Regions from separate parts of the Homo sapiens genome. Here all the other regions are linked to region 3. The links are contacts of gene promoters, found by promoter capture Hi-C in blood cells and fetal thymus (Javierre and others, 2016). All regions are on one chromosome and are shown on one strand. The core of a region is centred on a gene start or on the middle of the fragment in contact, and the rest is flanking DNA. Distances in the headings are between cores, read along the strand shown. Region 1 has its middle 21 kb from the start of GTF2I. Region 2 overlaps GTF2I (general transcription factor IIi). Region 3 holds the start of GTF2IRD1 (GTF2I repeat domain containing 1).

Region 1 (3,069 bases), core at 501-3,000, 180 kb after region 3:
ATACAAAAAATTGGCTGGGCGCGGTGGCTCACACCTGTAATCCCAGCACTTCGGGAGGCCGAGGCGGGTAGATCATGAGGTCAGGAGATCGAGACCATCCTGGCTAACATGGTGAAACCCCGTCTCTACTAAAAATACAAAAAATTAGCCGGGTGTGGTGATGGGCACCTGTAGTCCCAGCTACTCGGGAGGCTGAGGCAGGAGAATGGCATGAACCTGGGAGGCGGAGCTTGCAGTGAGCCGAGATCGTGCCACTGCACTCCAGCCTGGGCAACAGAGTGAGACTCCATCTCAAAAAAAAAAAAAAAAATAGTCCCAGCTACTCAGTAGGCTGAGGTGGGAGGATCACTTGAGCTAGGGATGTCAGGGTTGCAGTGAGCTGACATCTTGCCACTACGCTCCAGCCTGGGCTGCAGAGCAATACCCTGTCTAAAAAAGAAAAAAAAGAAGAAAGTAAGCAGGCAAGCAGGTCAGTGATTGCCAGGGCCTGGGGTGGTGGGTGGTGAAGAAAATTAACTAATGAAGAGGGGCACAGGAAACTTTCTAGAGCAATGGAAGTGTTGCATATATTTTTTTTTGACGGAGTCTTGCTCTGTCGCCCAGGCTGGAGTGCAGTGTTGTGATCTCGGCTTACTGCGACCTCCACCTCCTGGGTTCAAGCCATTCTCCTGCCTCAGCCTCCGGAGTAGCTGGGATTTCAGGCACGGCATGCGCCAGCACGCCCGGCTAATTTTTGTATTTTTAGTAGAGACAGGGTTTCACCATGTTGGCCAGGCTGGGCTCAAACTCCTGACCTCAGATGATCTGCCTGCCTCGGCCTCCCAAAGTGCTGGGATTACAGGCATGAGCCACCGCACCCAGCCCTGTATCTTGATTATGGTGGGGGTGACACGGGTGAGTGAAAATATTTGCTAAGGCTCCTTTAAGTAAACACATAAAAACGAATGCATTTTATTCTGTGTAAATAAAATACTTGAATAAAGTTGTTAAAAAAAAAAAAAAGCAGCAGCAGCTTAGTCCAGCTTCCCTGAGTGGGTGGTGTAATTTCGCCTGGAAGCGGAGGCTGGAATGACAGGCATCTTGGCCAACGTGTTCAGCACAAACCAGTCAACTGGCACAGAGGGCCCATTGTGATCAGACCACAGACTCTTCAGACAGAGCTGCATCTTCCCCTGCGCCCCGGCCAGCGCTGGCTGTGTGCCATTCCCTCTGCACCCTGTGCACCTTGACACAGTAGATCTCTGCACAAGCCCTTCTCTTTGCCTCCTTACCCCCTACCCTCCACCTTCTTCACCAGGAAAGTTCTATGCATTGTTCAAATGCCCCCACTCCCCACCTCCTCTGGGCTCTTTTTTTTTTGAGACAGAATCTCACTCTGTAGCCCAGGCTGGAGTGCAGTGGCACAATCTCGGCTCACTGCAACCTCCGCCTCCCGGGTTCAAGTGATTCTCTTGCCTCAGCCTCCTGAGTAGCTGGGACTATAGGCATGTGCCAACACACCCGGCTAATTGTTGTAGTTTTAGTAGAGACGGGGTTTCACCATGTTGGCCAGGCTGGTCTCAAACTCCTGACGTCAAGGGATCCGCCTACCTTGGTCTCCCAAAGTGTTGGCATTACAGCGATGAGTCACCATGCCCGGCCTTTGGGATCTTATGACAGGTGCCCTAGTCAGACTATATTATGACCTGTTTACAACTCTGTCCCCCAACAAGTCTGTAAACTATTTCTTTTTCTTTTTTTTTTTGAGACAGAGTCTCACTCTGTCTCCGAGGCTGGAGTGCAGTGGCGTGATCTCGGCTCAGTGCAACCTCTGTCTCCCAGGTTCAAGCGATTCTCCTGTCTCAGCCTCCCAAGTAGCTGAGACTACAGGTGCCCACTACCACGCCCAGCTAATTTTTGTGTTTTTAGTAGAGACGTAGTTTCACCATGTTGGCCAGGCTGGTCTCAAACTCCTGATCTTAGGTGATCTGCCCACTTCAGCTTCTCAAAGTGCTGGTATTCCAGGCAGGAGCCACCATGCCCGGCCTCTGGGCTCTTATTACAGATGCCATAGTCAGATTGTATTATAACCTGTTCACAACGCTGTCCTCCCACAAGTCCGTAAACTTCTTGAGGTCACAGATGGTACCATTTTTATCTCTGCATCCCCAAAGCACCTAACACATTCCCTAAAACACAGCAATAAAACATTCCTTGCATCCTTGTCAAGCAATGGTGTCAGCCCTTTACACGCTTTGTTTATTTATTTATTTATTTATTTATTTATTGACGGAATTTATTTAGAGACAGCCTGTTGCCCAGGCTGGAGTGTGATGGTGTGATCATAGCTCACAGCAGCCTCGAGCTCCTGCACTCAAGCAATCCTCTCACTTCAGCCTCCTGAGTAGCTGGGGCCACGGGTGTGTGTCTCCAAACCCAGCTAACTTAAAAATTTATTTTTTGCAGACAGAGGGTCTCCCTATGTGGCCCAGGCTGATCTCAAACTCCTGGGCTCAAGCAGTCCTCCCACCTCAGCCTCCCAAAATGTGGGGATTACAGGCATGAGCTACCGGGACCAGCTAATTTTTAAAATTTTTCTTTTTCTTTTTTTTTTTGAGACGGAGTCTCGCTCTGTCGCCCAGGCTGGAGTGCAGTGGCGGGATCTCGGCTCACTGCAAGCTCCGCCTCCCGGGTTCACGCCATTCTCCTGCCTCAGCCTCCCAAGTAGCTGGGACTACAGGCGCCCGCCACTACACCTGGCTAATTTTTTGTATTTTTAGTAGAGACGGGGTTTCACCGTTTTTTAGCCGGGATGGTCTCAATCTCCTGACCTCGTGATCCGCCCGCCTCGGCCTCCCAAAGTGCTGAGATTACAGGCGTGAGCCACCGCGCCCGGCCAAATTTTTCTTTTTTGTAGAGATGGGGTCTCCCTATGTCGCCTGGGCTGGTGTCAAATTCCTGACCTCGAGTGATCCTCCTGCCTTGGCTTCCTAAAGGGCTGAGATTACAAGTGTGAGCCACTGTGCCTGGGCAACTCAAGTCCCCTTCACCTTCAGTCATTCAGTCAACAAACACCAAATACTTGCTCCA
Region 2 (3,418 bases), core at 119-2,618, 250 kb after region 3:
GTAGAGACGGGGTTTCACCGTGTTGGCCAGGCTGGTCTCGAACTCCTGACCTCGGGTGATCCACCTGCCTCGGCCTCCCAAAGTACTGGGATTACAGGCATGAGCCACCACGCCTGGCCCGATAAGTCTTAATATGCTACTCTGTAGTATTTTATTGTACTTTTTTCCCCAAAAGATAGATAGAAATTGAAGTACTAAGTTCAGTTGATAACTCTTTTTTTTTGTGGAGACAGAGTCTCCCTCTGTGGCTCAGGCTGGAGTTCAGTGGCATGATCTCAGCTCACTGCAACCTCCACCTCCCGGATTCAAGTGATTCAGGTGAGCGCCACCACGCCTGGCTAATTTTTGTATTTTTAGTAGAGATGAGGTTTCACCATATTGGCCAGGCTGGTCTTGAACTCCTGACCTCGTGATCTGCCCGCCTCGGCCTCCCAATGTGTTGGGATTACAGGCGTGAGCCACTGTGCCCGGCCCAATAACTCTTATTTATGCAATAAATAAATATGTCAGTTTTAAGCTGAGTCAGGTTTGCACCCACCTTGGTCAAGGGAGGGATCTTAACACTTTGAGACCCAGAGACTTTGAATGCTGTGGGAATGGCTGTCACCAGCACGTGGCTTGATCAGGGCTTTCTTCTCCTTGCAGTTGTGGCCCCATCAAAGTGAAAACTGAACCCACAGAAGATTCTGGTATGTACTAGCACTTTTAGAATCAATGGTGAAATTAAGGAAGACTTTTCCTTAGTGTAGAAGTTTATAGTTTGACTCAATTATTGTTTTGTTTTGATAAGAAAGAGGCAGTCACTACTAATGTATTCCAACTGTGACACTATTTGTTAATGTTATCACATTAAGACCCAGAAAGGTAATTTGCTCAGTAAGTGGTAGGCAGAGTTCTTTGCCAGTTACATATGTTTGTAGATAAAATGTATTTTTTTTTCCCGTTGTACAGACATATAATGTAAGAGGTCAGCTGTTCTATAGTGCTTTTTACAAAAATCAATAGAATGCCCCCTTCGTCTCCACCTTCCTTCTCTGCACTCCTGTTTTCCACTCTCCAAGGAGACCATTTTCAATTCTCAAATAAAATTGCTATTTAATTCCTTATTTATTTATTTATTTTTTGAGATGGAGTCTTGCTTTGTCACCCAGACTGAAGTGCAGTGGCACGACCTCGGCTCACTGCAACCTCTGCCTCTGGGTTCAAGCGATTCTCCCACCTCAGCCTCCCGAGTAGCTGGGATTACAGGCATACGCCATCACGCACGACTAATTTTTGTATTTTTAGTAGCGACGGGGTTTCGCCAGGTTGGCCTGGCTGGTCTTGAACTCCTGACCTCAAGTGATCCTCCTGCCTCAGCCTTCCAAAGTCCTAGGATTACAGGCATAAGCCACCGTGCCCGGCCCCCGTTTATAATTCTGTTCTGTCCTAGAACCGTGGCACCCAGATGTTCTCAGCATATGTATTTATTTCATCATTTCCCAGTGTTATCCTGTGTCCTAGTGCCACTGTCAAGCCTCCCGCTGCTCGGCCCTGTGCCCCTTATTCACACGGGACACTCCTTAGTGGGCTGTCACCGCCCTGCCTGCCCCCTCATCTCCCTCTGTCTGACCAGGCCCTCGGCAGCTTCCCCAGCCCCTTCCCCGGCCCTTTGTCAGCCTTCTCATTCTGCCATGCTTCCTGGGCAGCCACCTGCCCCGCTTCACCCCATCTAAGGGCATCTCGAATGAGTTGTTGGGGAGGAGGGTAGGGCCGCGTTAACGTGTGTGTGCGTGCATGTGAATGAGAGCTTTTATGTATGTAAGTGTATTTTGGGAGAGCTGCAAGAAAGTGTTGAATTATCCTTTTTTGGAAAAGGTATTTGAGTCTTTTACACTGTTTGCTGGTTTTACAGAAGGTTTTTCTTTTTTCTTTATTTTCACTCCATAGGAAATCTCAAATTTTTGTGTGGTTTTCAGTAGATTGTGCCAAAAAAAATCATCATTTTGCAAATGTTTCCCCTTAATTCATATATTCATCTCCTGAATATTTAGTTTGCTTCTAAAAAGAAACATGCTGAATTCAGAAACCCCATGTGTTTAATTGAATTCTTTCAACTGTCTTTATGTACACATCAGCATCATTATAGGTTTTTTTTTTTCTCTTTTACACTTTGCATCTTTGTATTCTTAATTTATCCTGCAAATAAGATGTACATTTATAGCCAGGGTGCAGCCAGGAGACAGAAACCATATCAGTTATTGGAACAGAGAAAATTTAATGTAAAGATTGTTGGCCGGGTGCAGTGGCTCACACCTGTAATCCCAGCACTTTGGGAGGCTGAGGCGAGTGGATCACCTGAGGTCAGGAGTTGGAGACCGGCCTGGCCAACATGGTGAAACCCAGTCTCTACTAAAAATACAAAAAAAATTAGCAGGGCATGGTGGTGGGCGCCTGTAATCCCAGCTACTCAAGAGGCTGAGGGAGGAGAATCGTTTGAACTCAGGAGGTAGAGGTTACATTGAGTCAAGATCGTGCCATTGCACTCCAGCCTGGGCAACAAGAGTGAAACTCCATCTCAAAACAAAACAAACAAAAACAGATTGTTAACTGGTTATAAAATTGTTAACTTTGTAACCTTAAGGAGAATACTAAGGTTTTTTTTAAGGAACAATTCTAGGCAGTGGCTGCCACCCCATCAGCTTTCCATCTGACTTCTGAGGTGGGGTAGTGTTTGGCTGGTGCTGGTGGCTGAGGGGCATGGTGAGGCTGCTTCTGGTAGTGTTGGAGACATTGCCAGCCGGGCACAGCTGTTGTGATGGGAGGGCCTGCTTTGGCCAGGCTGAACGAGGGTACCAAGGAGTGACCTTTTTGGGATGAGAATGCAGACAAGAAGCCAAAAGGAAGGCCCAGATCTCTTCTCCTCCTCTAGCCTTTCTCTCTGTAGTGTATCTTTGTGGCAGAGACTCACATGGAGCCAGCTGCTATGCAGAGCTCAAACTTCAGCAGAAACCCAGAGGATGGGTTTGCAACTGAGAGACATCAGTTTTGTGGGTGGCCCAGGCTGTTCTCTTTGGCTGCTCAGCATATATACACACCCTTCCCTGCACATTTGACCTTCTGTACAACAACGAGACAACTGTTCCATCTAAAGAGATGCAACTTTACTTCCTACAAAGAAATCCATTTTTACTCTCTCCTCAAAATGGGGGGACACAGTGTTCCAGCAGTCACACCCATCGCTGGGAGACTGACTGAAAATCCAGTCGCGAGCTATGTTACCTGCTCTTTAAATGCAGTGCAAACCTATTTGAGTAATCTCTAGTCTAATGGACAAATGGAAAGGAAACTTCCAGCCAAACTATTGTGAAATACTACCACACAGAAGAGAATAGTTAGTATATGCAAGCATATAATCTTCACACAAACACATTTGTAA
Region 3 (3,146 bases), core at 647-3,146:
TGCAGTGGCTGAATCTTGGCTCACTGCAGCCTCCACCTCCTGGGTTCCAGTGATTCTCATGCGTCAGCCTTCTGAGTAGCTGGGATTACAGGCATGCACCACCACACCCGGCTAATTTTTGTATTTTTAGTGACCAGGTTTCGCTGTGTTGGCCATGCTGGTCTTGAACTCCTGACCTCAAGCAATCCACCCACCTTCGCCTCCCAAAGTGCTGGGATTACAGGCATGAGCCACTGAGCCCAGCCAAAAGCGTCTTATTAATGCAGAGCTAGCCAAGCAGTAGGACTGGAGTTATTACTCAAATAAATCTCCCCAAGAACTCAGAGGCTAGGGTTTTTATGGATAATTTGGTGGGCAAGGGCCCAGGGAATGGGTACTGCTGATTGGTTGGAGATGAAATCACAGGGGTGTGGCAAACGGTCCTTATGCACTGAGTCGGTCTCTGAGTGGGGGCCACAGGATGGGCTGAGTCATGAGTCACACAGGTCCAGGTGAGTCAGTCGGTTGCCCGAATGCGAAAGTCTGAAAAACATCTCCAAAGACCAATCTCAGTTTCCACAATAGAGATGCTATCTATAGGAGGAAGTGGGGAACTCACAAATCTTGTGATCTCTCGCCACATGACTCCTGAGCAGTCAGATTATAAAAACGATGCGTAGGTTTTAGCAGCGTCCAGGCCCCTCCCATAATCCTAATCTCACGGCCTTTCGTTAGTTTTACAAAGGTGGTTTTGGTCTCTTGTATAAAAAGCAGGTTAGGTTTAAGGAGTAACTATTATCATCCTTGTTTCAAAGTTGAACTATAAACTAAATTCCTCCCCCGGTTAGCTTGGCCTATGCCCCGGAATGAGTGAAGACAGCCAGCGCGTGAGGCTGGAAGCAAGATGGAGTCAGCCACGCTAAACTTCTGTCACTGTCCTAATCTTTGCAAAGGCAGTTTGGCCAGGAGGCTGTGGGGAGACCTTGTGGGTTTTGCCAGGACCTGGGAGATTCTCGATCTATGTTTGGCTGTCCTTCTAAGCCAGAAGCTCCCTGGGGTTGGGGCCTGCCTGGGGTGAGTCCCTCCCTCCCTGCCATGCCCAGTCTAGCCAAGGTCTAGTTCAGGGATCAGGGCACCACGTGGGGGAAGGACTGTGTTCCTTGTGCTGAATTAGGATTTATGGCTTTGGGGCCGGATGGGAGGCGTGCGCACTGATTCAGTAGGAGCGCTGCTGTGGTGTGTGTGTGGTTGGTGGGAGCGGGGCGGGCGGGGGGCGGGGGGGCTGGTTGGGGGGACAGGGGTAAAAGCCTATCAGAGGGAGGTCCCATCAGACAAGATGGGACCAAGAGTCCAGTTGGCTCTGCTGCGACTTTCGGCCTGTCACTGCCTTCCTGCACATCTCAGGGGTGGGAGGGGGACAAAGGCTGTAAGAGTAAGAGGTACCTGGCCCAAGCCTTAGGACTAGAACCCGGGCCAGGCGGGAGTGACCAGCCGGGACACTCAGGGCCTCCGCGCGTTCCAGCTGGGTGACCTTGACCCTCCAACTTCAGCCCCCTGCGCCCGGCTGCTCTCCCAGTGGTGGTGGGGAGCGGTGGGGGTAGACGGGGGCGCGCCCAGGCTTTTCTAATCCGGCGCTGGTGGGGGAGAACCGAGGGCGCCACCGCCCCTCCCCGCAGGTCCGGGGCCGAGGGGTGCGGCGCGCTCTCCCCACCGCGGTGCCCAGGTCCCCGGGACGCAGGGGCGCTGGGTAGCAAGGGGGGTGCGCAGGGGCGCGGGGCGCGGGGCGGGCTAATCCCGTATGTAAATGGCAGCCAATGGAGGGTGGTGTTGCGCGGGGCTGGGATTAGGGCCGGGGCGAATGGCTGGCAATCTTACTGGGATTACAGAACAAAGAGCCTCCCCGCGCTCCCGCTCTCCGCTCCTCTCCCCGCGCCGCCCCGCCCTCCGCCGCAGCCCGCGCCGGGGGTGGGGGCCGCCGAGCGCCAGCCCCCCGGCCGGCCGATTCCCCCCCCGCGCCCCCTCCCCGCGCCTCCCTCCCCGCCCTCGCCGCGCCGCCGTCCTCGCCTCCCTCTGCCTCTCCTTCCCCCATTCTCCCGGATTAATTAAGGAGGCAGCGGCAGGAGGCTGAGTCCTGGCCGCGGGCCGGGGCCGGGGCGCCGCTGGCAGGAGCGCTTGGGGATCCTCCAAGGTAGGAGAAACTTTTGCGGGGGGCGGGCACCGAGGCCCTTCTCCCCTTCTCCCCCACCCCCGCCCCCGATCCCCTCCGCCTCCGGGGGGGGGGGTCCCCGCCCCTCCCCCTCTCAAGGTGTTACAGGAGCTGGGGCCGGCTTTTGGGTGCCCGGGGAGGCACGTGACTGGGATTATAATTCGGGCCCGGGGGGAGGGGAGGGACGGCCGCCCCCCACCTGCCCGGGAGGGGCCGGGAGCTGGGAGCTGTCACCCCCTCCCTCCTTGCCACCGGCTCTTCTGGAGGTGGGGGGCGTCCCGGGCCGGCGCCCGCAGGCTGCTGCAGTTGGCGAATGAGGTCAGTCGCGCTGCCCGCGGTGGCGGGCGCCGGGGTGGGAGCAGAGGGGGCTGGGAAGGCCGCGGTCCCCGCCTTTCCCCCCTCCACCTTCTCCCGGTCTGGGCCAGCCCCTGGCCCGCGCCCCCAACTCCCAGGCGGAGTCCAGTCCAGCCAGGATTGCCCCAGCAGGGTGGTTCCTGTAGTGGACCCCCCGCCCCGGCCCCGGGGAGGGGGCTGGCCTGTGTGGTGGTGGCCGCTGAATCCCGGGTGGAGGGGACTCAGAAGGTGGCAGTGGGGGGACCACAAAGGGTTCAGAGGAGTAAGTTGGGGATACTCGGTCTGTGGGTGGTCTCTGAGTTCCTGCAGATGGGTGGAGAGGACAGAGGAGGGGCCACAGGGTGCTGAACACCCACCCGCCCCATCCTAAGTACCCTGGGCATGATGGGCTTGACACCTCTCCTGGGCTCCTCACCCCTGGCCAGCAGCCAGGGAGTGAGACCCTGCCTCGCCTGGCGTGGGCCCAGGGAAGGGGGCCGCTGTGCCGCTGAGAGTTCGTTCCACCCTCCTGGCAGTGCTGGAGGGGGCTGGAGCTCTGGCGTCTGGCCTAGTGACCCTACCTCCCAGGACCAAGGTCCTGCGGTGGGAGTCTCCTGTGTCCCCATCC

Evidence for each region. The method cuts DNA at HindIII sites, captures the fragments that hold promoters and counts their contacts. A CHiCAGO score of 5 or more calls a contact.
Region 1: a fragment that was not itself captured here is called in contact with the fragment with the promoter of GTF2IRD1 in region 3 in 6 of 17 cell types (activated CD4 T cells, fetal thymus, endothelial precursors and 3 more); the score reaches 7.1 in activated CD4 T cells.
Region 2: a fragment that was not itself captured here is called in contact with the fragment with the promoter of GTF2IRD1 in region 3 in 2 of 17 cell types (activated CD4 T cells and non-activated CD4 T cells); the score reaches 6.9 in activated CD4 T cells.

What each region holds. Positions count from the first base shown.
Region 1 is chr7:74,634,742-74,637,810 of GRCh38, forward strand. No RefSeq gene overlaps it. Among named protein-coding and RNA genes, the nearest start is that of GTF2I, 21 kb to the right of the region's middle. The HindIII fragment of the contact is 7,732 bases long and covers 1-3,069 here.
Region 2 is chr7:74,705,745-74,709,162 of GRCh38, forward strand. It overlaps GTF2I (general transcription factor IIi), which reads left to right. Exons shown (of 35, transcript NM_032999.4): 8 at 646-689. All of the region lies in intron 2 of GTF2I-AS1 (GTF2I antisense RNA 1), which reads right to left. Among named protein-coding and RNA genes, the nearest start is that of GTF2I-AS1, 21 kb to the right of the region's middle. The HindIII fragment of the contact is 6,850 bases long and covers 1-3,418 here.
Region 3 is chr7:74,452,010-74,455,155 of GRCh38, forward strand. GTF2IRD1 (GTF2I repeat domain containing 1) reads left to right here and starts at 1,897. Exons shown (of 27, transcript NM_005685.4): 1 at 1,897-2,167. RefSeq lists an enhancer at 193-712 and silencers at 1,598-1,947, 2,450-2,519. The HindIII fragment of the contact is 10,217 bases long and covers 1-3,146 here.